Regions from separate parts of the Homo sapiens genome. Here regions 1, 2, 3, 4, 6 and 7 are each linked to region 5. Evidence: promoter capture Hi-C in 16 types of primary human blood cells and fetal thymus (Javierre and others, 2016). All regions are on one chromosome and are shown on one strand. The core of a region is centred on a gene start or on the middle of the fragment in contact, and the rest is flanking DNA. Distances in the headings are between cores, read along the strand shown. Region 1 has its middle 9.5 kb from the start of TREX2. Region 2 has its middle 6.3 kb from the start of HAUS7. Region 3 overlaps BGN (biglycan). Region 4 overlaps HAUS7 (HAUS augmin like complex subunit 7). Region 5 holds the start of PNMA3 (PNMA family member 3). Region 6 overlaps ATP2B3 (ATPase plasma membrane Ca2+ transporting 3). Region 7 overlaps ATP2B3 (ATPase plasma membrane Ca2+ transporting 3).

Region 1 (3,364 bases), core at 540-3,039, 380 kb before region 5:
AGATGAAGTTTCGCTCTGGTCACCCAGGCTGGAATGCAATGGCACGATCTTGGCTCACCACAACCTCCGCCTCCTGGGTTCAAGCGATTCTCTTGCCTCAGCCTCCCGAGTAACTGGGATTACAGGCGCATGCCACCATGCCCAGCTAATTTTTGTATATTTAGTAGAGACAGGGTTTTGCCATGTTAGCCAGGCCGGTCTCGAACTCCTGACCTCAGGTGATCTGCCCGCTTTGGCCTCCCAAAATGCTGGGATTACAGGTGTGAGCCACCATGCCCAGCTGAATCTTTTAAAACTTTGATTTATTAGTATCTTTTGAGTGATTCGGGTATTTTAAATTAAAGTGTGTATTCAATCTGTACCCTAAACATTATGGCCAGTGATGCGTTTGGTGTTGAAATTGTATCTATCAATAAGCTTGACACTTTATTATCGCTAAATGCAGATTTTACTGTGTCCTATAGGTTTGCTATTAAACATTCTTCTTTGCTTTGCTTTAGGAATAGCTTGTAATTTTGCTTTCCATTCCCTTCTTGATCTCATGCTTATATACTGCAGTTTATCTTAATTTCTGAGTAATTATGATTTCATGATCTTTTTTTTTTTTTTTTTTTTTTGAGACAGGGTCTCATTGTCACCCAGGTTGGAATGCACTGTCGCAATCTTGGCTCACTGCAACTTCCGCCTCCCGGGCTCAAACTATCTTTCCACCTCATTCTCCCAAATAGCTGGGACTACAGGCATGCGCCACCACAGCCTGCCAATTTTTGTATTTATTGTATAGATGGGGTTTTGCCATGTTTCCCTCTGGTCTCGAACTCCTGAGCTCAAGTGATCAACCCTCCTCGGCCTCCCAAAGGGCTGGGATTACAGGCATGAGCTACCACACCCAGCCAGTCATGTTTTGTTGTGTATTTTAGTTGTATTGGATAATAATCTGAGGATGTGTTGCTTAAAATATCACCTTTTCGAATTAAGGTAGTTTGGGGGCTGCTTGAGTTCTCTAGGGATGCCATAGCAAAGTTCCATAAACTAGGGGGCTTCGACAGCAGAAATGGACTGTTTCTCGGATCTGGAGGCCAGAAGTCAGAGATCGAGGTGTTGGCAGGGCAAGGTTCCCCCTGGGGGCCGTGAGGGAGAATCTATTCCAGGCTCTCCCCCAGCTTCCGGGACTTTGCTGGCCATCTTTGGTGTTCCTTGATTTGTGGCAGCCTCTCCCCAATCTCTGCCTTCATCTTCACACAGCCCTCTTTCTCCCTGCATACAAGGCGCTGTGTCCACATTTCTTCTTTTTATAATGACACAGTCATATTGGATTACAGCCCACCCTAATGACCTCATTTTAACTTGATTACCTCTGTGAAGATCCCCAAATAAGGCTCCATTCTGAGGTACTGGGGGTTTGGGCTGTAATATATCTTTTTTTAGGGGGAGGAGGGAGGCAGACACAATTCAATGGATAACAGAGGCCGAATACATAAATAACTGTAAAATATGTTATAGACTCTGAAAAATGCACCTGCTTCAGAGATGCAGGCTTTTCTATATATCTCTAAAATCTAGTTGACAATTGTACTATTCAATTTCCTTTACATTTTTACTTGTTTTTTTTTTTGTTGACTATATCTGTCTGATTTAATGACAATATATTAGAACATTCCATTGTAATTGCATTTTCTTGAAGTCTTCCTTCATGTCTAGTCATTTTTCTTTATGCATTTAGTTGCTGTGTGTTTGTGCTTACTGCATTACAACTGTATTAATACACACACATATATATATACACACGCTCTAACACACATATACTCATGACACATATATACTGACAAATACTTGATACATATTATAGCCAGGCACTGTGGTTCATGCCTGTAATCCCAGCACTTTGGGAGGCTGAGGCAGGCAGAACATTTGAGGCTAGGAGTTCGAGACCAGCCTGGTCAACATGGTGAAACCCTGTCTCTACTAAATGCAACAAAAATTAGCCGGGTGTGGTGGTGAGCCTGGCCAACAGAGCAAGGCTCGGTCTCAAAAAAGAAAAAAAAAATCCCAAAAAACCACACCAAAAATACACATTATATCCACACCATGTATATGATATATATCATATCGTGTGTGTGTGTTTGTGTGTGTGTAGAGAGAGAGAGATTTTAAGGAATCAGCTCACGTGACATGGAGGTTGGCAAGTCACTGGACACTCAGGGAAGAGTTGTTTGAGTCCAAAGGCTCGAGTTGGAGGCAGAATTCCTTCCTCTTTGGGTGACCTCAGTCATTTTCTCTTAATCCCTTCAACTGATTGGATGAGGCCCACCCACAGCATGGAGAACAATCTGCTGTACTTAGTCTTCTCATTTAAATACTAATTTTATTTAAAAACACCCTCACAGCCACATCTAGACTGGTGTTTGACCAAAACTGGGTACTGTAGACTGGCCAGGTTGATGCATAAACTTTACCTTCCCAGTCACTATAGCACGGTCTGGTCTTTGTTCTCTGGAATTTTCTTCGTGCGTAACACCCACGAATCTGTACTTGATCCTTACAGCCAGCCCAGCCAGCCCCTCTGTCATCACTTATTTCAATTGAGCGCATACTTTGTGAGGTGGCTGCCCACCGCCCCTTCCTCTCTGAGGCCTCTGTTCTGTTGCAGGGGTTGTTTGGTCTTGCAGCTTTGCAGTGAGCAGATGTTTGCAGAATGTAACCGACTCAAGTCTGGCTGCTTGCTGTTTGGAGGCCAGAATACAAGAAGCGAGGTGTGGTGAAAGGAAAGCCGTTTTTGTTTTTTGTTTTTTTTTGGCAGAATCTTGTTCTGTCACTCAGGCTGGAGTGCAGTAGCACAATCTCGGCTCACTGCAACCTCCGCCTCCTGGGTTCAGGTGATTCTCCTTCCTCAGCCTCCTGAGTAGCTGGGATCATAGGCTCGCACTACCATGCCTGGCTAATTTTTGTATTTTTTGTAGAGACAGGGTTTCGCCATGTTGGATAGGCTGGCCTCAAACTCCTGACCTCAAATGATCCACCCAACTTGGCCTCCCAAAGTGCTGTGATTACAGGCGTGAGCCACCACTCCTGGCCGAAAGCAGCTTTTACTCGAGTGCTAGCAGGTGGGAGAATGGCCGGGCTGGCCAGGCTCAAGCCTCAGAGGAACCATCTCAAGCTTTATGTGGGCGAGAGGAGTAAAAGGGAGCTTGGAATGGGAGACATGCAGGCGGGGCACTGGGCACAAGGTCTGTGTGCCTTGTTCCCTTGGCTATCTTGAGTCATGGTCCACTGGGAGCACGGGCTGGCATCATCTCTACGATGGCTGGGTTGTAGACTGACCGCCTGGAATTTCACAGCTAGATTTCCATGCTTGGTTTGTCTC
Region 2 (3,349 bases), core at 214-2,713, 420 kb before region 5:
CGTTCTGTGGCTGTCCCGACCCCCTACATAGGAGCATGGGTGTTCCAGGCACTGCCTGGGTGAAGCCATGTCACAGGTCCCCCCCAGACTTCTTGGCCAACAGTCTGGGATCTCTGATGTGCCTAGGCTGCACGCATCCTTTTGGTCAGAGGGGCACCTGTGGGTCAGGATGACATGAGGTGGAAAATAGGCTGGGCTCGATGAGGGGACTGCTGGGTGGGGCCAGAGGGGCGTGTGGTGGAGTGAGGGGCAAATAAGGGGGTGTCTGGCTCCAGTTCCTAGAGCCCGCCACCCTCAGAGGGCTGCCGGAAGTCCCTGCTCCAACTGGGGTGTCCCTGCAGCCCCAACCCCGCGTTCTGCTGTGGGAGCCAGGGTTTGTGGGAGCAGGCAGGCGGGGGCTGGCAGAGAGGACTGATCTCACCGCTGGCTCGGCTCTTCAGGGCCAGTATTGAGGAAGCTTTTCCTACAGCCCTGTCCAGCGTTGACTTAGGTTTGGAAGCGATCTTAAGAAATGAGTTAATTGTGGGCAAGGCTTGGGTGGAGGGGAGAAGGGAAGCAGTGGAGGAGGGGCAGGGGCCGGCAAGGGCCATCAGGCAGGAGTCTCCATCCTGGGGCAATGAGGCAATGTGTGAGATCCAGAGGGGTGCAGGGCTGGTCAAGGTGGGGAGGAGGCCTGGCAACTGGGTCTTCACTGGGCTCCTTGAGGAGCTGCCGCTCCAGCTAACAGTCCCGTAGGAGCCACATGGGGTCCTCTGCTATATCCAGGGTACCCTCGCCATCCAGGGCTCTGGTTTCTGACCTGAATTTGGACCCTGCCACGTACAGACCAGAAACAGGGACCATCTAGGGAGTCAGCAAATGCCTCTGGAGTCAGGGATGAGGCCACCATCTCCTTGTGCGTCCTGTGGGTGACACAGGATGGCTGTGGGCCAGTGTCCTGCCTGGGGGCAGCTGCCGAAGCTGGGACAGGGTAGCACTGGGGCACGGCAGACTTGAAGTATGCTGCCAAGACTAAGTGAAGCTTGCCCCAGGATCCTGCAAGACAGAGCACAGTCGACCCCCCATTTTACAGAGAAGGAACAGAGAAGGAGTGGGGCTCACCCAAGTCTCGATACCAGAGGCCAGTCCTCCTGCCTCCTGGTCCAGGCATCGCCTGAGAAACGGGGTAGGTCCCTGCCTGAGCTGAGCCTAGCACCTGGGGTCGGGAGACTGGACGGTGATGGGAACCCCGGCTCCGCCCCTCCCCCTGCCTGGGGATGGATTCTGGAATCCTGGCCCCCTACCCATTTCCCCTGTTTGCGCCGCTCCCCAGGCGCTGACTAAACATCCTGCCATCTGGTTCCCATTAGCTGGGCTGGGGGTGGGGGAAGCCTGCTCCCAGGTTTCTCTGGCACAGCCAGCCTGGAGGAGGGAGGGACTCCGCTCCTACCCACCTAGGCAGGAAGGGGTGAGGCCTGGGGTGCTCTCAGTTCCCAGCTCCCATGGAGGCCTGGCCTCGCTGCCCTTCCCCTGGTCGGGAGCCTGGTGGCTGACCTGGGTGGGCCCCTGGGGAGTGGTACTCCTGCTGCCCACTCTGTCCAGTCCCAGGGCACCCGGCCATTGTGGGGACCTTGAAGGAACCCCCATGGAGCAGAGCCAGCCTTCAGGGGCTCAGCAGAGCCAGAGGCTCCCGGCAAGTTTCTGCCTTGCCCTCCCCCCCGCCCAAGAGCTCACTGACGGACTTGTGCTGAGACAGGCAGGCCCCAAGCCAACAGTAATCCCGAGCCCGGTGTCTGGAGCAGAGGGTGGGAGGGCTGTTGGGATTTTCCAGGAACCAGGGATGCAGCCCGAGGGTTGCTGGAAAGAGCTTTGGGCTCCCAGTTCTGCCATGGACGGACTGGCCATGTGACATCAGGAACAAGCTTCCCTCCCTCCTCAGTGCCCCAGTCTTCTCATTTCAGTATGGTGGAAACAGGCTCCTTAGAAAGTTCTAGAATCTGAGAGCCAGAAGGCGCCTAGAGAAGCTGGATTACATGATCAAGGTCGCTTCTAGTTGTACAATCCCAGGATTCTAAGGTCAAGGAAGGGACTCCTGTCCCTTGTCCTCCTCCCCCTTCCCTTCCATGTAGCCCACTCTTCACACACTCATGCACACACATACCCTCTACAAGCTGGGACTCAGATTGGTAGCCTGGAGGATGCCAAAGCAATGCTGTTTGTCCCTCAAGGCTGTCATCAACGAGGACTGGACAGTGGATTCTTTGCTCACTGACAGGGGATCAGGTGAGGACCGTGAGAAAGTGACATTTGGGCAGAGGCATGAGTGAAGAGGCCATGGCCATGCAAAAAGCCACAGAAAGAGCCCTCCGAAAAAGAGGGATGGCCAGTGCAGAGGCCCCAGGTGAGAAAGGGTTGGGCCCAATTTGAGCATTGGCAATGACAGCAATGTGGTGGAGCAGGCTGAGTGAGCCGTGGGAAGGTGTCTGTGGCGGTGGGCTGGCTTGCCTTTGTCCTTGAAAGAATCAGGGAGCCACCTTGGACTGCTAAGCAGAGGAGTCACAGGATCCGGCCCCCCTCAGGCTGTGGGGTGGAGCACGAGCAGATGTACTGGGGGCATAAGGGTAGGAGGTGGGAGCCACCGTGTGGCAGCTGAGCCCGCCAGGGGCCAGGTGATAGTGGCTGGCCAAGGGTGGAGGCGGGGTTGCGAGGAGGAGCGGGTGGGGTCAGGAGCATTTGGGCCTCAGGGTCAAGGTCTGGGGGCTGTTCCTGCTCTCCTGCTCTCCTGCTCTCTGCAGGAGCACCTACTACGTGCCTGTCCTTTTCCCAGGGCCCAGGGCAGCCAGAGACACAGCCTTGGGGTGACCCCCAGAGAAAAGGAACAGGCCCATTCTTGAGCTTTCCACATGTTGTCTGAGTGAAAACGACAGCAGTGTGTGGCACATGGGTGGCATTCTCTGGGGACATGCGCCTGCAGCTATCTTATATGTCAGTAACAATATGGGGCCTTTCCCCCTTAAAGCTTGGAGAAGAAAAAAGCCCCATTTTCCATGCCCTCTTCCTGTTGCCCGCAACTCTTCCCTAGAGGAAACCCATCTTATTTTAATGCTACTGAAACCTCAGAGGATCTGGTCCCAATTAAATGACTTTTCTTGCAGACGCTTTGGTGAGCACTAAATGCTTGAGACCTGGTGATCCTGAGCGAGAGAGCCTGCTGCGGGGTGGGGGTGGAGAAGAAAAAGGAGGGAAGGGGAACACAGGACCCCAAATGGGACAAGGGTGGCTGCGGATGGGGTGGAGGGTGCCAGTGGAGGGGGACTGCAGAGGGTGGCACGCAGCAGGGACCAGCCCATAGGGAGCAGGGCCGTGGTCG
Region 3 (3,291 bases), core at 792-3,291, 450 kb before region 5:
TCCTAGGACTGGAGCCTTGGACACTTGGGTTTGGGAGTGAACGAGAAAAAAGCTTCATGGGGTGCCTCTGGGTGGCTGTGGTGGGAGAGCAGGGGCAGCTCTGAGGCCAAGGGAACATGTGATGGGGGCCGGGCCTTGCGCCCACCTGCACCCTTGGGAGCCAGGGAGAGGCGGTGATGGGGCATCGAGCTGGGGTCAGGGACCCGAGGTGGGGGGCTGGGTTGGACGCAGCTGGGCCCTGGCTTAGCTTCCTGGCTCTGCCTCCCCATCAGGATGTCTGGCTGTGTTCCCCAGAGACCCCCACTGAGGCCCCGCGGTGGCTGCAGCTGCCTCTACTTTTTGTAGTTGCCAAACTGGATGGCCAGGCGGTCAGTGACGCAGCGGAAAGTGGCCGGCTGCACCTCCCAGTAGGGCACGGGGTTGTTGAAGAGGCTGATGCCGTTGTAGTAGGCCCGCTTCACCCCGAAGCCCATGGGACAGAAGTCGTTGACACCCACTTTGGTGATGTTGTTGGAGTGCAGATAGACCACCTGAAGGCAGAGAGGCCGGGTCACGGCAGGCCTCCCTCCCTCCACGCCAAGCCCGCTGCCTCCAGGAGGCATTTTGCTGTTGCCTCTGCACCCTACTTCAAGGGCCACACCAGAGGCTCCCCGTTGTTGGGAGGAGCAAACCAAGGCATGGGCGTGTTATTTGTGTGGGTGTCAGCCAGGATTAAGGCACTGGATGTGACCAGGGACAAGGATGAGGGTCTCAGGTGGGTCAGGTTGAGGACATGTGGGGGCGGGGCTGGGGTAGAGGTGTGTTTGGTGGTGTGAGGTGGAGGAAAGGTGGCCTGAGCCTCGGGGGAGCACCCTCACACTCCATGGGGCATGAGAGGAGAAAGAGCCCTTGGGATGCCCTCCTCTTTCTTCCAGTCAGCAGAGGAGCTCGCCCTCTAGCAGCCCCTCCAACTCTCTGGAGCCACCGTCTTGCTGTCTCTGGGAGGAGCGGAGGTGGGCAGGCGAGGCGCCTGCTGGGTTGGGCTGGGAGCCCAGTGCTGGTGAACATGACAATGGCCACTAGAGGGCGCACTCGGCCCAGCATGGGCATGGCCTGCGCGGTGCTGGCTCGCAGCTGGTGCGGATGGGGGTGCTCCAAACACTTGTGGATGGAGCAGGGCTGGGCAAGACCAAGATCACCCACCTGGTTGCGGGCCAGGCCAGGGATGGAAGCTCCCGATAGAATCCCAGGCAAGACCCTGCTCCCCCTCGTCAGCCTACTTCCTGCCCTGGGCGGTCACTGTCTTGGCACAGATCTGTGCACTCCCACGCCCACAGTTTCTCGACTCCCTGGACTCTGCCACATCTTTCTGGTGTCCGACCCACCTGGAGACCCTCGGGTCCAAGAGCTACCAGGCTGCCTTGCTCGGTATCCACCATGGAGCCCCTGCTCCCTGCCTCCTCAGCACCAGCTGGGAGCATCAGGACCGCTCCCTTGCAGATGCCCAGAGCCGGTCGGGAAGGAGGGCCAGGGGACTGAGGGACTGCCCGGGGACACACACGCCTCCCCCAGCCCAGCCTTAGGGAACCTGGCTGTGCATGCCCAGCTCTCACCTGGAGGAGCTTGAGGTCTGGGAGCCCTGAGGGCACCCTGGCCAACTTGTTGTTGTCCAAGTGGAGCTCCCGGAGGGTGGGCAGGAAGCTCAGGCTCCCGTTCTCGATCATCCTGATCTGGTTGTGGCCTAGGCCCAGCCTGTGAGCGGGAGAATGACACGGACTCAAAGGCTGGAGGTAAGGATGGGGGGCTGGGCGCGAGGGGCCACACAGCACTGAGGGACTCTGGCATCACCCTTGGGCGGTGCCCTGCTGGCCTCACCTGTACAGCTTGGAGTAGCGAAGCAGGTCCTCCAGTTCGATGGCCTGGATTTTGTTGTGGTCTAGGTGGAGTTCATTCAGGGTCTCAGGGAGGTCTGCCAGGAGAAGAGGGCACAGGGGAGAATGCAGGTGCTGAGGGCAGGGGCCCTAGCTCTGCCCCAGGTGGCGGGAGGGGACTGTTGAGCCTTTCCCTGAGTAGATCGGGCCCATCCAGAGCCCCCACCCTGGCCATCTGTGCTGTTGGGGGTGAGGCAGGCAGGCGTGCAGGAAGAGTGGGCTTCCTACCTTTGGGGATGCCAGTCAGCTTGGCCTCTGAGATGCGCAGGTAGTTGAGCTTCAGGCCATCGAAGGCTCCAGGTTCAAAGCCACTGTTCTCCAGTGGGTTCCCGCCCATCTCTAGGGGAGAGACCTCATTAGCCCGGGAGCCTGGTGGTCCCTGCACAGCCCTGGGTCCTGTCACTTCCGGGCCAGTGTGGTGGGCCCTGCTACCTGCCGGCTGCTCCCGTCTCCTGAAAGCAGTTCTGCTAATTTACCGGGCTAATTGCAAACTCCTAGCTGTTCAGGACTGCTAGCCCCAGGACTGCTAGCTCCAGGGGCAGCAAGAGGAAAGGGAGGAGTGCCAGAGATGAAGATGGGGCTCCCGGAAGCCACCCGGCCCCTCTGGCCCAGTCTTCTCTTTAGCCGTGGTGATCGCCTGCATGGAGGATTTGCCAAGAAATCCATGGATTTTCTTTTGACCGTTCTCACCATACTCTTTCTTGAACTGAGCCTCTAAAGGTATCCCTTGGTCTCCCTTCCCCATGCCTCGAGACAAGGCTCTGGAATGTTCTGGGAGGCCCTCAGCTCACCGATGCAGTTCATGTTCCGGAGCCCGCTGAACACTCCCTTGGGCACCTTGCGGATGCGGTTGTCGTGGATGCGGAGCTCCACCAGGGAGCTGGGTAGGTTGGGCGGGATCTCCACCAGGTGGTTCTTGGAGATGTAGAGCTTCTGCAGCTTCCGCAGTGGGCTGAAGGCCTTCTCATGGATCTTGGAGATCTTGTTGTTCACCAGGACGAGGGCCTGAAGCAGGGTGGGCGGAGGAGGTGAAGGCACAGACTCCCCACCCCACCCGCCCCTCTCTCCTGCCTTCCTGTGCCTCCCCAGCCCACTGGGCCTCGAGGAGGTTCAGTCCATGCTTGTGAGCAGAGTGCAGGGCAGGAGGCAGCACCCAGGCCCGGTCCTGAGCCCCAGCAGTGCCACCACTGCCTTGCCGCTCCAAGCCTCAGTTTCCTCACACGCACACTGGCTACAATGAAATCCGTTCTCCTCTGTTGCTGGGAGGAGTGGACGTGATGAAACGTTTTCAGCCACGAAGGGAGCCGAACTGAGCGATCCGGTCCTGCAGCTGTGGTTGCTCAAACCCACATGAGTGAGCCGCAAACCCGGGAGCTCCCAT
Region 4 (3,340 bases), core at 1-2,500, 400 kb before region 5:
GTTGGCCGCACTGTTGTCACGTTACGCTCCAAAATAGCAAGGTCCATTCATTCTTGTGGATGACCAAGAACTGTGCCAGACAGGCAGACAAATGCCTGCCTGTCTGCCCATGAGCCTGCTCAGACAGGATGAGAGGAAGTGGGCTCGTCAATGTTTGCTTGTTTCGTTGTTCCACATGTGAGATCCCCAGAGGCCAACCTAAAAAGCCGGCTTTAGTTACGATGACTACAGTTCCCACGTGCGCAACTCTGCCCTTGGCTCAAGGATTCCGTGATGTTCATTTTGGTTTTCTAAGCGAGAGGCTCCGAGCCTTCCAACCTCTGACTGGCTGGTCCTGTGAGACCCCTCGATCAGGGATGGTGAGGCCACAGCCCTCTCCTGTCCATTTTTCTTGGGACATTTATTTTCCCCCCTTGCCAATTGCTGGGGCTGGGAGGACACGCAGTGCTGGCTGGCATGTCCCTAGGCATCGAGGGTTGCCAGAGCGACATGAGAGTGTGGCATCCCCACTGGGCCAGGAAGAGGGGACTTAGGTCCGAGAACTCTGATTGGTGACTTCCCCGCTGGGAGTTCTGTCCCTCACCCTTGGCTGTCTTTCAGGTGAATGCCACCTGATCAGTGTGAGTGGGGGTGGGAAGCAGGAGATGCCGTCGCTACGTGAGACCAGCGGCATTTAGTGCCTGCTCGCTCCCTCCCTCCCTCCCTCCCTCCCTCCCTCCCTCCCCAGCTGCTGCAAGTGGTCATGGCAGTTGCTGACACCTCTGCGAAGGCCGTGGAGACCGTGAAGAAGCAGCAAGGCGAGCAGATCTGCTGGGGTGGCAGCAGCTCCGTCATGAGTCTAGGTACGTGGCTGCCCACCTGGCCCTCTGCCTGGGGCTGCCCCACGCACAGGCTTCCTTTTCTGTGCTCCACTAGCCCTGGAGGAGCATTTGGGGACCGGCCCCTTCTTTTGTTTTTCATTTTCTAATGCATGTTTTCCTTCACTTGAAAAAATGCTTTCAGCGGATTATCAAATGAAAACGCTCATCGTAGAAAATTGAGATAACTCAGTAATAGAAAATGTGAAGCAAATGATAACAAATGCCTGAATGGAATAGTATTTGACAATTAAAAATGTAACTTGGGCCAGGCGCGGTGGCTCATGCCTGTAATCCCAGCACTTTGGGAAGCAGAGGAGGATGAACCACTTTGAGCATAGAGATCAGCCTGGGCAACATGGCAAAACCACGTTTCTACTAAAATACAGAAACTAGCTGGGCATGGTGGCGTGCACCTGCAGTCTCAGCTACTTGGGAGGCTGAGGTGGGAGGATCACTTGAGCCCATGAGAGGGAAGTTGCAGTGAGCTGAGGTCACGCCACAGTACTCCAGCCTGGGTGACAGCCAGACCCTGTCTTAAAAAAAAAAAAAAAAAAGTTACTTAAGGAAAATGGGAAAAGGCTTATAATGAGGGCCATCTTCTCAGAGTTGATTTTTGCATATGGAGTGAGGTGGGGATCCAGTTTCCTCGTATCCTATATGGATACACATTTGTCGCAGCACCATTGACTGGAAATCACTCTTTCTCTCATTGATCTGCAATACCATCACTCTTGGTAATTATTAAGTATCCATATGTTATGTGTGGGTTTCTGGGTTCTCCTCTGTTCCATTCTATTCCTTTTTTTTTTTGCTATCCCTGCACTAATACCACGTTTCAGGGGGCTAGAAAATAAACAGCAAAATAAACCCAAAGAAAGAAGGTAAAGCCAGTTTTCTACCTCTTCTAATTTATTTTTTAAATAACAGCTCTACTGAATTCAAGTTCATATAACATAAAATTTACCCTTTTAAAAGTGTACAATTTCATGGTCTTTAGGATATTCACAGAGTTGTGTAACCATCCTCTTATCACTATCTGAGTCCAGAACATTTTTATCACCCCCAGAAGAAACCCCATATGATTAGCAGCCATTCCCCATCCCTCCCTAGCCTCAACTCCTGGCAACCACTGTCATAGAGACGCTGTCTGTCTCTATGGATTTGCCTGTGCTGGACATTTCCTATAAATGGAATAACAATGTGTGGCCTTTTGTGACTGGTGTCTTTCACTGAGCATAAAGTTTTGTAAGGGTTATCCATGTAGTTCATTCCTTTTCATGGTTGAATAATATTTGATTGTGTGGATATCCCACATTTTGTTGTAGTTGGTAGATGTGGGTTTCTACTTTTTGGCTATGTACATCGTAAGTCTTTTGTGTGAACGTATTTTTCTTTTTCTTTTTGAGATGGAGTCTCGCTCTGTCACCCAGGCTGGAGTGCAGTCTCAGCTCACTGCAACCTCCACCTCCTGGGTTGAAGCAATTCTGCCTCAGCCTCCCGGGTAGCTGGGGTTACAGGCACTCACCACCACGCCTGACTAATTTTTGTATTTTTAAGTACAGATGGGGTTTTGCCATGTTGGCCGGGCTGGTCTCGAACTGCTGACCTCAGGTGATCCACCTGTCTCGGCCTCCCAAAGTACTGGGATTATAGGTATGAGCCACCGCGCCCAGCCTCTTTAACTCTGTTTTTTAAAGTTATTTTTTAAGTGGTTGGCTTTAGAATTACAGTTAGCATCCTAACTGAAAACAGTCTAGTACCAAATGAATTTCAATAGTATACAGAAACTGCCTCCTATTAAAGCAAAATGTATTTGTGGGTACACCATTTTAATTCCCTTGTTGGTTCTTTAACACTTCTTTTAAAAGTTATTTTTAAGTGGTTGTCCTTAGAATTGCATTTAGCATCCTAACTGAAAACAGTGTATTACCAAACTAATTTCAGTTGTATACAAAAACTTTGCCCATTAGAATGAAGCTGTATTAAATGTGTACATTGGTACACATTTTTATATTTATCGATGTTGTTACCTTTGTTGGAGTTCTTTATTTCTTCATGTGGATTTGTGTTACTGTCTAGTGTCCTTCCATGCCATCCCGGAGGCCTACCCTTAGTATTTCCTGTAGGGAAGGCTCACTAGTGATGAACTCCCTCATTTTTTATGTGGGAATGTCTTCATTTCTCCTTCATCTTTGAAGGATAGTTTTGCTGAATATAGAATTCTTTTGTACTTTGAATGTGTCATTTCAGTGTCCTCTGGCTGCCAAAGCTTCTGATGCGAAGCCAGCTGGTATATGATGAGTCTCTTCACTTTCTTTTCAAAATTCTGTTGGTCCCTGGCTTTGGACAGTTTGATTATAATCTGTCTTCGTGTGAATCACTGTGAATTTATTCCATTGGGAGCTTTTTGAGCTTTGTAAATGTGTCGTCATTCATGTTTTTCATCAACACTCAGCCAGGTAGTTGACAGCTCTTTCTCC
Region 5 (3,544 bases), core at 1-2,500:
CCCGGAGCCCACTGACCACCTGGAGAGCAGGGCCCCGTAAGCATTCCATCAGCCTCCGCCTCTTTTCCCCCTCGGGCACCTGCCACATCTGTAGCATCTCAGTGGTGTGCTCAAGCCAGGCATCAAAGGCCAGTGCACCTGGGATGGATATGGTGTTCCCAGAAAACACTCTTAGTTCTCGGTACAACATTTGTTCTAGCAGAGGCTGCACTGCTGCCCCCAGAGTCTGGGCCCAGGTCCAGAACTCTGGTGATATAGTCACTCTTGGAGCCGAACAATTGGTGTCCGACCCGAGGACTCGGTTCATATCTGACACGGTCCGCCTCTCCTCCTCTAAGAAGCGGTTCAGTCTGTTGAGAAATTCCCCATCTGAGTTACGGGGTTTTACAATCACTTCCCAGGGCCCCCCCTTTCCTGGTATTTCCCTTGGGAGCAAAGCATAGTCGATATCTTGTGCCAGCTCCAGTAGAATCGCCTGGGCGTTCTCCTCCCTCCTAAACATCCTGCCAATCACCCTGTATCTGCCCAGGTGCCTGCAAGCCTCCTGGAGTGTCTCCTCAAACTCATCCTCGCCACAGTCCTCGGGGATCCCCAGGATGAGCATGCACCTCCGGGTGTTCAGGTGTTCCCCCCGACACCAGTCCTGTAACAAGGTCAACGGCATGTCCTCGAATCTCTGCGGATACTAATTTGGGGGGAGTGATCAGGGCGTGAGGCACATATCTGGATCAACTCCTAGGGTGATCGCAGAAGGCCCAGGTCTCCACAGCCTGTGAATGCGAGCAGGGCGAGAGCGAGGTTAATGCCCACCTCTCCGCACGCCCACATCCACGCCCACCCCCACCCCCACCCCCAGCCGCCCTCCTCCCCGGGCGGCGCCTCTGCAGCCAGGCCCCGCCCCTGCCCAGCCCCCCACCCCCACCCCCCGTGGGGTCTCTGCGGGCCTCAGCCCCCTCCCCGCGCTGCCCCAGGACCCTGGACCCCTGCCCTGCAGGCTGCTTCAGTTCTGATAGGGCGGACAGGCGAGGGGCGGCGGAGTCTCCCGGGGCCCAGCGTCTCCCTCCCCAGGTGGGTCTGTTACCTTCTCCCAGGGCAAGGTCCCTTCTGGTCGGGGTCCCCAGAGGGCTCTCCGGGGGCTATGCGCGGCGGCGGCGGCGGCGGCGGACGGGGGTCGGGCACCCCTGGCTCCCAGCGCGGACGTTCGCTCAGACTGTGGCTCTCCCTCGCTCGCGCAGCACGTGGGCCAGTGCGCCGGCGCCTGCTCGCCGCGGCTCTCTGCAGTGCGGACACGGGGCGGGGGCGCGGCGGCGGTGCAGCGCGGACCCCTCCGCGTCGTCCGGGAGACCGCAGGGCCATTGGCGCGGACGGGTCACGAGGTCGGGCTCTCGCCGCCGCCCCTGGGGGCCCCAGGTCCCCGGGTGACGTCACCTGCTCCTCTCCCCTAGCCCCCCCGCCACGGGGGCCCCCGGGCCCCCGGGCACACAAGCGCCCGCCCACCCCCATCCCCACTGCGGTGGCCAAAGGTCTGTGGCGGCCAGTCCCCGTGCCTTTGGCTCTCACCACAGCGGTTCCTGGTCCCGGCTCCTGCCCCTCCCGCACGTGCCACGGAGGTGCCAGCGGGGCGAGGGGTCTGCACCCCGGCGTGCCCACCAGAGGGCCAGGGAGTGGTCTGAGGTGCGCCAGGCAGCTCTGCATTATGGCCAGGGTCAGGGAGCCGGGTTCTGGGGCCTGTTCACCTGCTCTTGTCCTCCCCCTCCCCGTCCAGGACTGGTCCTCTGGCTGGCGAGGCCAGGGGCACCTGGTGCGGGTGCCATTCCGTGCAGGAGATGCCCCAGGCACTCATGCAGGTCACGCACACCACCCCAAGGAGGGTCAGCCATCTCCCCGCTGTCCATCCCGCTGCTGGGACCTGAGGCCCTCCGGCCAAAGCGCTTCGCTGCCCAGGTGCCAGTGGACAGGTTTACCGGGACCTTTCCGGTTTTGTGCGCTGCAAATCTAGTGACTTGGGAAACCACTTCCAGGACTTGGAGCCCAATCCCTTGGGCCTGCCCTTCCTTGGCAGCCGTGCGCCGTGGGTTCTATTGTATCCGTTTGATCCCAGGGCAGCAGCCAAATGAAGAAGGGAGTGACTGTCCCTCAGGCAGTGGGCCCAGGTGTTCTGTGGGTCCTGCCTGCTCTGCCAGCCGCATGCTCAACTCCTATTCACACAGCTTCAGCTCCTCTCCAAACACAACGAAAAGGGGCTTGTGGTTGATTTTCAGGCCAGGTTCACCCATCCAGCCAAGTCTGGGAGGCCACCTTGCAGTGAGTGGGGCACAAAACTGTCCACTGACTTCCTGCCCCACCCTGAGTTCTGCTCGTCAGCCTGGCACTTGTCAGGGACCAAGAAGAAATGGCCCCAAGGGCTTTTTCCTGGTCAGACAGAATTCCTGAAACATCTTTACAGGAGTTATTTCATTTGCTCCTCACCAGAACTCTGAAGCAGGTATTAACATTATCCTGATTTGACTCATGAGGCTCAGAGAGATTAAGAGACATTTTCAAGGTCACACACCGTATTGAAGGTAGAATTGAGACTGGATTCTAAATTAGTGCCCATCAGTCTTTGGGTAGAATTGGGACTATTTCTCCCCTGGTTGCTTCATGCCTATTAGAATTTATTTCTCTCATTTTTGTCCATTCACAGTCCCTTGCTTTGTCACTCCAAGGGCTCAACCAGCTTCAAACTGAACCTTCATCTGCCCAACTTGCAGGGGTGGAAACAGAGGTTCAGAGAAGGGACACTACTGGCCCAAGGTCACACAGTGAGTAAATGACAAAGCTTGAGATGTCAAGGGGAGATGCCAAGTATTCATGCCAAGGCAGAGGGGCGTGTCTGGAATGTCTCCGGAAAGAAGCCTGTGAAGTTCCCAGACAGACGCAGTGATCTGTGGATGTTCTGGGCATTGGGAAAAAAGGATTTGGAAACACTGGTATCAAGACAATAGATGTGAATATGTCCAATTTGAAAAGTTTTAGAACTCCTTTATATTGGAGTTAACCTTTGCCCTTGAAACCAGTGGAAATGTCTTAATTACTTTTGCTTCCCCATCTCCTTGCATGGTAGATAACACAGCAGCACCAAAGTTGGGGAACTGATGGATAAACATTATTACTTGTAAAGTGAAAAACATAATACAGCATGAAGGAAGCAACCTCCACCGGGGTGGCCTTGCCCTGGCTTAGACCAGTAGTGACTATCGGGGTCACAAAAGGGGCAGATTCATGGGCCCCACCTCTGCAATCTGATCTGCTGAGTCTGAAACAGGCCTGGGAATTTTTTAAAGAGTTTCTGGTAATTAAATACTTTATAAAATACATTCTGCAATATTTAACATACAAAACGTACTTAAAAAGTACATCCAGTACTCCTGAATGTAGTAACTGGATGAAGACATAAAACACTGCCAGTGAGGGTAAGCGCCTGCAGATTCCTTCCCTGTTGTCTCCCACTCTTGTCCTCCATGTGCATTTCTTCGTGCTTTTTCTGCAAATGACTATATCC
Region 6 (3,521 bases), core at 464-2,963, 470 kb before region 5:
TGCCAGCTGGAATGCTGATGTGGGGACAGGTGCGGCCGCAGCTATCTATCTGTTGCCATCTTGCACATGGAGTCCATGTATGACACAATCAAAGGAGCTCAGATTCCTGAGGGCTAAGTAGCTGTTGCGCTGGCCCTAGGTTGCCCACCTAGACTCTTACATGAGAAAGAAGTCAATTCTCTCTCACTGAAGCCACTGTTATGCTGGGTCTCTGTTAGATAGGCCAAGCCCATAGCCTGAGTAAATGTTCACTCCTAACCCAAATCCAGCCTGGTTCTGGGAGAGCCAGGAGGCCTCCCTGAGGTCTCCAGGACCTACCAAACCCCCACTTTCCCCTGAGCTCCCTGGGGGGTGATATTGTCCTAGAAGTTCTAGCTGAGGCAGAAGGGAGATGATAGAGCCACGGATGAGAGGCAGAATGACTATCACTCTGCCAGCAGCCTCTATAGCATGGGGTGGCCCTCCCCACCAAAGAGCACATGCGGCTCAGGCACAGAGTGGTTAGAGAGCCTACTCAAGGTCACACGGCAAGCCAGAAGCAGAGGCCAACAGGACCTCAAGTGGTCTAGCTCCAGAGGATTCGACATTGCTGCTCTGCCAAGTTATACTGCCCTGAAAAGCCCAGAAAAGCAACGAGCAAGTGATTAGAACCAATGAAAAGAGTTCAGCAAAGTGACTGGACAGGAAATCTGTCCCCATCAACCTCAGGGTTCCAGAGTGCAGGTGCTGGCTTTGGTCACTCAAGCTCTCTGGGCCTTCACTTTTTAATCTGCGAAATGGTCCTCGTTCCTTTTTGCTGGGTTGGTGAGAAGGCAGGGCTCCACCTGCCCACACACCCTGAGGCTGGTCCCCAGGGGACTGGGCCCATTTTCCCGGAGGTTCCTTCAAGCCCAGGAGATCTCCAGGAAGCCGAGCAGGGCAATGCTCTTCGCTGAGTCAGCCCCTCCCGCCACACGCTCCCCTCCCGAGGCTTGTCCTGAAGTCTTCAGCTGGACTCCAGCTGGACCCCAGAGTTCACAGGTCAGGACCAAGCTCGACCGGTGAAGTCAGAACATTCCGTTCGGCCGGGGGCTGAACCCATGTGCCTCTCTGGATGCTTCCCCAAGCTTGCCCGGACTCCCGCAGTGCTCCTGTCTCCCACACAGGCGGCCCTCACAATGCTGGGTGTCCCTGGATCCCACGGGGAGGTTGGAAGCCCCTTTGTGATTGGGGCCAGAAGTCTACACTGAGGGTTGGGGGACAGTCATTTGTTTCCTGCCAGAGAAGGCAAGAGCTGCAGAAGGAGAGAGCGAGGGAGCAGGAAGCATAATGACACTAATTATCCAATTACAGCGGGTGTGCGAGCTGCATAGCAGCGTGAGCCTGGCCAGCCACTACCCTGCCCCTACGTGCTCCCCACGCCCCTCCTGCCAGCCCGGGCCTGCCCAGCAGCCCCGAAGGCAGGGACGGCATGGGGACCTAGAAACGCTGTGGCTGTGGCCAGCGTGAAAGACTCTAGCCTACAAAGGGACGGAGACCTCGTGTTTGGGGTCCAATGGGAAGCCGGGTCCCTGTCCTCCCAGCCCTTCATAGCCAGAGAGCACGTGGATGGGAGGAGAGGTGCCCCAAGTCGGCCCGGCTCTGCTGTGGTACCTCGGTGCCCGTCCCAGCCCGCTTCCAATCTCAGAGCCAGCTCTGAGGACCGGAAGCCGTCGGGGCCTAAATAGGTAATTAAGGAAATTACAGGCAGCTGGAGGCCATGGGGCTGTGGGCCCTGGGCTAAGTCCTTCCAGCTTGGACAGGCAGTGACTAAATAAGGAGCTACCAGGACACATACACGTGTCCTCCTAGGGAACGAGTCCCATGGGGCCCCATTAGGAATCCTGGCAGGGGCAGTAGAGAGGGCATCCTGGTTTCTGGAAGCAGGCCAAAGTCCTTGGGAGTACAGGCTGGGGGGATGCATTGGTGTCAAGGTCAGAGGCCAATAAAAGGATCTGGGAGGCAGACCTCCAAATGGGGGCTCCAACTGAAGATGGGAGTCAAGCCTGCCCTTCTGTGATCTAGACCCAAGGAACGAGCACACCGAAGTATCCGTGCCACTCTCCCCAGCTGAGGGGGCAGGATGCCTGCTGCCAAATGTGGTGATGGAGGAAGAGCCAGTGGCGAGGATGCCCAGAGAGAGGGTACCTCAGAAGCTGCAGCCGAGGCTGCAGGACGCGAAGGTCATCAAGGGCTTGGCTGCTGTCTGAATCGCGTGAACTGAGCATTGCTGGTTCATTTTTGAATTTTGCCTAAGACACTATTTCTGAGCGAGGAACCCGGCATACGAGCCCAAAGCTTTTCCAGCAAAGCCCAGAGGAAGCACCACCAAGTTCCTGCCGTGCTCCAGGAGTGCCTGAAGGGAGTGCAGAGGCAGAGGCCCCCTCTCAGGCCGGGACCCAACACCAACACAGGGCTCCGAGTCTCTCCCTCAGTGCGCCCCACAGCCCATCAGCTCCCCCTACCCTCCCACCACCAGCTGCTCCTCCAGTTCCTGACCCTCTTATCATCATCTGTCATCAGCACCATTCCTCCCGCCCCCTCTGTGCTCATGGACAGATGCCTGCTCTCCCCACTGGGAAGGCACCGGGAGAGCACAGCTGGGCTGGGGACAGGACCTGAAGGGGTGGATTTCTGCTCTGTGTGCTCACCCCCTCCCCTCCTCCCTTAGGGGAGACCCCAACCCTGCCCGTCTCCATCTCAGATACCCCCTCCCACGATTGTGCTATAGCCCAGCTTCCTCCTTCGGGGAAGGGTGGATGGGGCGCAGAGGGCCAGGCGGTGGCCTGGGAGCCCTGACCCACCCCATCCCACCTACAGACACAGCCACGAGTGCCTCCCTAGGGGCTACCAGGGCAGGCGTCTGGGGCAGTGGCCCCCAGGTCAGCGCATTCTTACCCTCTGGCCCCATGGATGGGTTACAAGGGGGGACTCTTGCTCCACTCCCCAGGACAGAGGTTTCCAAGCCTAGCTGCTGGTCACAGTGTTGTGGGCAGATGAACCACAGGCCAGGAGGGAGAGATGAGACTAGGTGGGAGACGTGCCCTACCCGTCCACAGCCCTCCCTCTTCTCCTGCACCAGACGTGGGACCATCTGCTGGCAGCCGCCCTCTGACTACAGGAAGGTACCCAGAGACCCCAGGAGCCAGAGGAGCCAGGACCAGCTGCTCCTGAGCCCATCTCTCCTGGGCCTGTGGCTCCAAGCCAAGATGTGGCAGTGTCTGGTCCTGGATGCTTCCAGGAGAAATGGAGCTGAGGCCCATGGTGGGGGGCGGAATGGACCCTTGTGCCTGGTGAGCCCTTGCTCTGCCCGAGAATTGGGGCTGGACACACTCTCCTGCTCCTGCTGCTCTTTGAGGGAGCCAAGCGGTTACTGCCGGGCTGGTCCAACCTGGAGAAAGGGCCCCTTCCCATTTGGTCACGCCCTGTGCCACCATCACACCCCTGGCCCGCAATCTGTGGGAATGTAGGTTCAGTTTCGAACCGGCCACTCCATGCGCCTT
Region 7 (3,023 bases), core at 2-2,501, 490 kb before region 5:
GACTCTGTTCTGCTCAGCTAGCTCCACGTGTGGCACTAAGCCCACTGGGCACCTGGTCAGCCCTGAGCCAATAGCGAGGCTGTAAGGCATCAGCAACCTCATCCAATGGTGGGGGCGGGATGCGCACCCGGGACCTCCCCTGCCCGAGCCCCCTCTCAGTTACCCACCAGCCCTGCAGCTCTCCCACCCCACCACCCCACCACCCCACCACCCCACACCTGGCTCCCCCCACCTCCTCCCACTGCCTCCCAGTGTCCCGGGCCCTCTGCTGATTCTCCGCTTCCCCGCTGCCTCCCAGCCCCTCCGTCCTACTGCCCACATTGTGCAGATGCTGAACCCCTGGGTATCTCACCGCCTGCCTGCTTTCTGGCCCATCTCATGCCGAGGGACCTGAGCTGACAGATCAGCAAAGCTGCCCCCTGGGTCCCTGCTCGGCACCTCCTCTCCTCCCTTGAGCTATCCCAAACGTCCCCAGTTTATACTGCCACCAAGGCGCCCAATGACTTCTTACCCCAGTTTCCGAGTCTGTAAACAGTATCAACTGTAAGTTTTATGATTACCTTGACAGAGTAAGCTAAGGAGATGGTGACAGCAAGAGGCAGGCCCTCTGGGACAGCCACGACCAGCACAGTGACACCAATGATGAAGAACTTCACGAAGTATTGTACATAGACCGGCGTGCACTCTGCCAGCCATGTCCGGCCTTCCACGACAAACGTCTCAATCACAAAGTAGAGGACCAGGATGATGACGGTGATGGCAGACATCACCAGCCCTGCCACAGAGCGGGGAGGAGACGAAAGGGGTTGCCACGGGTGAGGGAAGGAGGGGGACAGGAAGAGGGAAGAAGAGGTATGGACACGGTCTCGGAGGCATTTGTGAAGGCCTTGTAGATTTGCCTTGCGTTTCAGGATAAACAGCCCAGGTTTGGCTCAGCAGGTGAGCTGGGGCCTGTTTGCAAGGGGGCTCTGTGTGGCCTCTTCTGGAGTGCTGCTGGGGTTGGGGAGTGGACTTTGTGGTCTGATGGCAGGAGAAGCACCGCTGGGGAGGACTAGCAAGAGTCAATCCCCCACTGCACCCCAGAAGTTGGGGTACCAGCCCTGCATGCCCCCAGCTGCCTTTTGAGGGTGCCAGGGGCAGAGCCTGGAGCCTTGGGTAGGGGCACCTCATGGGCAGTGGCTCAGTGTGTGACCCGGGCTTTCGTCGAGGGTTTGGGACTTCTGCTCACTAGGGAAGGGCTGCGCCAGGCCCTGATGGCCACTGCCGGCCTGGCCTGTGCCCTTGCCTGCCTGGCCCACACATCACCTGCCACATCCCTTCCCACCTGCTCTACACAGCCTGGGCTCATCTCCAGGAGCCCAGCATCCTCCACGCCCAGTCAATGGCCTGGGCCCACCACCTCCTGCTGTCCCTACCTGCTTTCCCGATCTGCACGGCTAGCTTTGTGAGCTTCCCCTGAAGGACAGACTTCTCCTTTTTGGGTGCGTTGGCTTTCTTCTTCTCCCGCTCCTCCATCTCCCCACCCTCCGCGCTCTTCAGGGGCTGCATCTCCATGGCCACTGCACCATCCTGCTTCTTAGCTGCACACAGAGGAACCCCATGGCCAAGGTCAGTGCCTGGCTGGGGAGAAGGCGTTATAAGGGGCTTTTGTGGGGGAAAGACATGCCACACCATAGAGAGGAGACGGGATTCAGTGGAGCTCTCCTATTTCCAAGTCTATCAGCTTCCCTTCTCTCGCCTCCTAAGCCCAGGCCCTCTTGGGGTGGGTGGGGTGGCTCCAGCACTGTTCTAGGTGGGACAGAGATGGTTCTCTCGGGAGAAGGGAGGACAGACACAGCACAAGGCTTTTGGGCACACAGACAGGGTGACTGGTCCTGGAATGCCCCAAATAATACCTGAGAGCAGAGGCCTGTGGCCCGAGGAATCTTCCAGAACCCTGAGCTGACTCATCTGCTTACTGGTGTCCGAGCCACCTCCTACCTCCCTTAGGGAGGCCCAGAAGCCCCATGCACTCTCCTCCCACCAGCCAGCCCTGCGCCTGTTCGGGCTCCATCTGTCCCTCCAGCACCCTCCCTGCCTCTCCCCTGGAGCAGACGGCTCCTCTCCCTTCTTCCCTGGTGGGTCCTGTGCTCCTCATCCTTGCTGCCCTCGACATGGTGGTGGTGTGTCCCCCACTCCGGCTCCCTCCTCTCCCCACTCCTCTGCTTCTGTCACTTCCTCATCTCCCTCCCTGCCAAGCTCTGGCCGCACCCACTCCACGGCCCAGAGTAATCCTGGCCACCCCACCTCCCTCTTCTGCCCCGGGACCGACGCAGCGACCTGGGGAGAGCAGACTCGTCTTTCTCCCTCACTACTCTGGTCCCCGATCCACTGGGGCTCTTGGCACTACCGCCATCACCTCTGCCTCCTCCTGCTCCTCCTCACTTGCCAGCCCAAGGCCATTCGCCACGGCTCCTCTTCCCAGTGGCGTCAGGACACAATTGCCCCACCCAGCTGGGCCCCTCCAGCTTTGTGCCCCACCTGCTGCCACCTCCTCAACCCAGGGCTGCAGCCATCGGGCTGTCCCCCCACTGCCCTCCCAAACCCAGCTCCGCACAGGGCGTTGCCTGGGTCATCTCTGCCTGTGACCTTCCTGAGGGTCAGGACCTGCCTTGTTCCCCATGGACTCCAGCACCTAGAGCTGGCTGCTGCATTGGCCGACATCTCCTGTCCTCCGTGGGCCACGGCTGGCCTCCTCCCCGCTCCTCCCACCCCTTCTCCTGCTTCCTGCGTCTCACAGCCAGGCTCATGCTGGCCCCAGGGTGTCGGCACCTGCCAGCTGTCCGGGGCTGAGAGGAGAGCCGGGCCTCTGGCCCTCAGCCGACCACTCTGTCTCCCAGGTCCTCAGGCTTGGCTGAAAGGAAGCTGGCCTGGGAAACACACTGACTGGGACCCAGAGCTTCAGGTGAGTCAGCCCTTCTGGGCCTCAGTTTTCTCATCTGGCCAGAGTGGACTCGGGGCGCCCACTCACAGGTGATCCTTAT

What was found. Contacts are between HindIII fragments. The CHiCAGO score rates a contact against its expected background, and 5 or more counts as called.
Region 1: a contact is called between a fragment that was not itself captured here and the fragment with the promoter of PNMA3 in region 5, in 11 of 17 cell types (naive B cells, naive CD8 T cells, non-activated CD4 T cells and 8 more). The highest score is 11.4, in naive B cells.
Region 2: a contact is called between a fragment that was not itself captured here and the fragment with the promoter of PNMA3 in region 5, in 11 of 17 cell types (M1 macrophages, naive B cells, naive CD4 T cells and 8 more). The highest score is 11.0, in M1 macrophages.
Region 3: a fragment that was not itself captured here is called in contact with the fragment with the promoter of PNMA3 in region 5 in 10 of 17 cell types (total B cells, M1 macrophages, naive B cells and 7 more); the score reaches 11.4 in total B cells.
Region 4: a contact is called between a fragment that was not itself captured here and the fragment with the promoter of PNMA3 in region 5, in 12 of 17 cell types (naive CD4 T cells, naive B cells, activated CD4 T cells and 9 more). The highest score is 11.1, in naive CD4 T cells.
Region 6: a contact is called between a fragment that was not itself captured here and the fragment with the promoter of PNMA3 in region 5, in 10 of 17 cell types (total B cells, M1 macrophages, M0 macrophages and 7 more). The highest score is 10.7, in total B cells.
Region 7: a contact is called between a fragment that was not itself captured here and the fragment with the promoter of PNMA3 in region 5, in 10 of 17 cell types (non-activated CD4 T cells, M0 macrophages, activated CD4 T cells and 7 more). The highest score is 10.2, in non-activated CD4 T cells.

The regions. Positions count from the first base shown.
Region 1 is chrX:153,434,923-153,438,286 of GRCh38, reverse strand. No RefSeq gene overlaps it. Among named protein-coding and RNA genes, the nearest start is that of TREX2, 9.5 kb to the left of the region's middle. The HindIII fragment of the contact is 2,740 bases long and covers 420-3,159 here.
Region 2 is chrX:153,475,242-153,478,590 of GRCh38, reverse strand. It overlaps a transcript of HAUS7 not described here. Among named protein-coding and RNA genes, the nearest start is that of HAUS7, 6.3 kb to the right of the region's middle. RefSeq lists enhancers at 880-1,380, 1,381-1,881, 2,077-2,616. The HindIII fragment of the contact is 880 bases long and covers 1,024-1,903 here.
Region 3 is chrX:153,505,487-153,508,777 of GRCh38, reverse strand. BGN (biglycan) reads right to left here. Exons shown (of 8, transcript NM_001711.6): 4 at 2,702-2,915; 5 at 2,139-2,249; 6 at 1,855-1,948; 7 at 1,593-1,731; 8 at 1-530. The coding sequence ends at 333. Among named protein-coding and RNA genes, the nearest start is that of ATP2B3, 11 kb to the left of the region's middle. RefSeq lists enhancers at 1,111-1,160, 1,241-1,340. The HindIII fragment of the contact is 3,973 bases long and covers 55-3,291 here.
Region 4 is chrX:153,451,896-153,455,235 of GRCh38, reverse strand. It overlaps HAUS7 (HAUS augmin like complex subunit 7), which reads left to right. Exons shown (of 10, transcript NM_001385482.1): 9 at 728-842. Among named protein-coding and RNA genes, the nearest start is that of TREX2, 7.5 kb to the right of the region's middle. The HindIII fragment of the contact is 3,762 bases long and covers 1-3,131 here.
Region 5 is chrX:153,054,176-153,057,719 of GRCh38, reverse strand. PNMA3 (PNMA family member 3) reads right to left here and starts at 1,250. Exons shown (of 2, transcript NM_013364.6): 1 at 1,082-1,250; 2 at 1-770. The coding sequence starts at 664. The HindIII fragment of the contact is 3,087 bases long and covers 1-2,823 here.
Region 6 is chrX:153,525,283-153,528,803 of GRCh38, reverse strand. The region is part of intron 2 of ATP2B3 (ATPase plasma membrane Ca2+ transporting 3); the gene reads right to left. Among named protein-coding and RNA genes, the nearest start is that of ATP2B3, 9.4 kb to the right of the region's middle. The HindIII fragment of the contact is 1,210 bases long and covers 1,109-2,318 here.
Region 7 is chrX:153,546,392-153,549,414 of GRCh38, reverse strand. ATP2B3 (ATPase plasma membrane Ca2+ transporting 3) reads right to left here. Exons shown (of 22, transcript NM_001001344.3): 9 at 1,416-1,580; 10 at 561-775. Among named protein-coding and RNA genes, the nearest start is that of ATP2B3, 30 kb to the right of the region's middle. The HindIII fragment of the contact is 4,010 bases long and covers 1-3,023 here.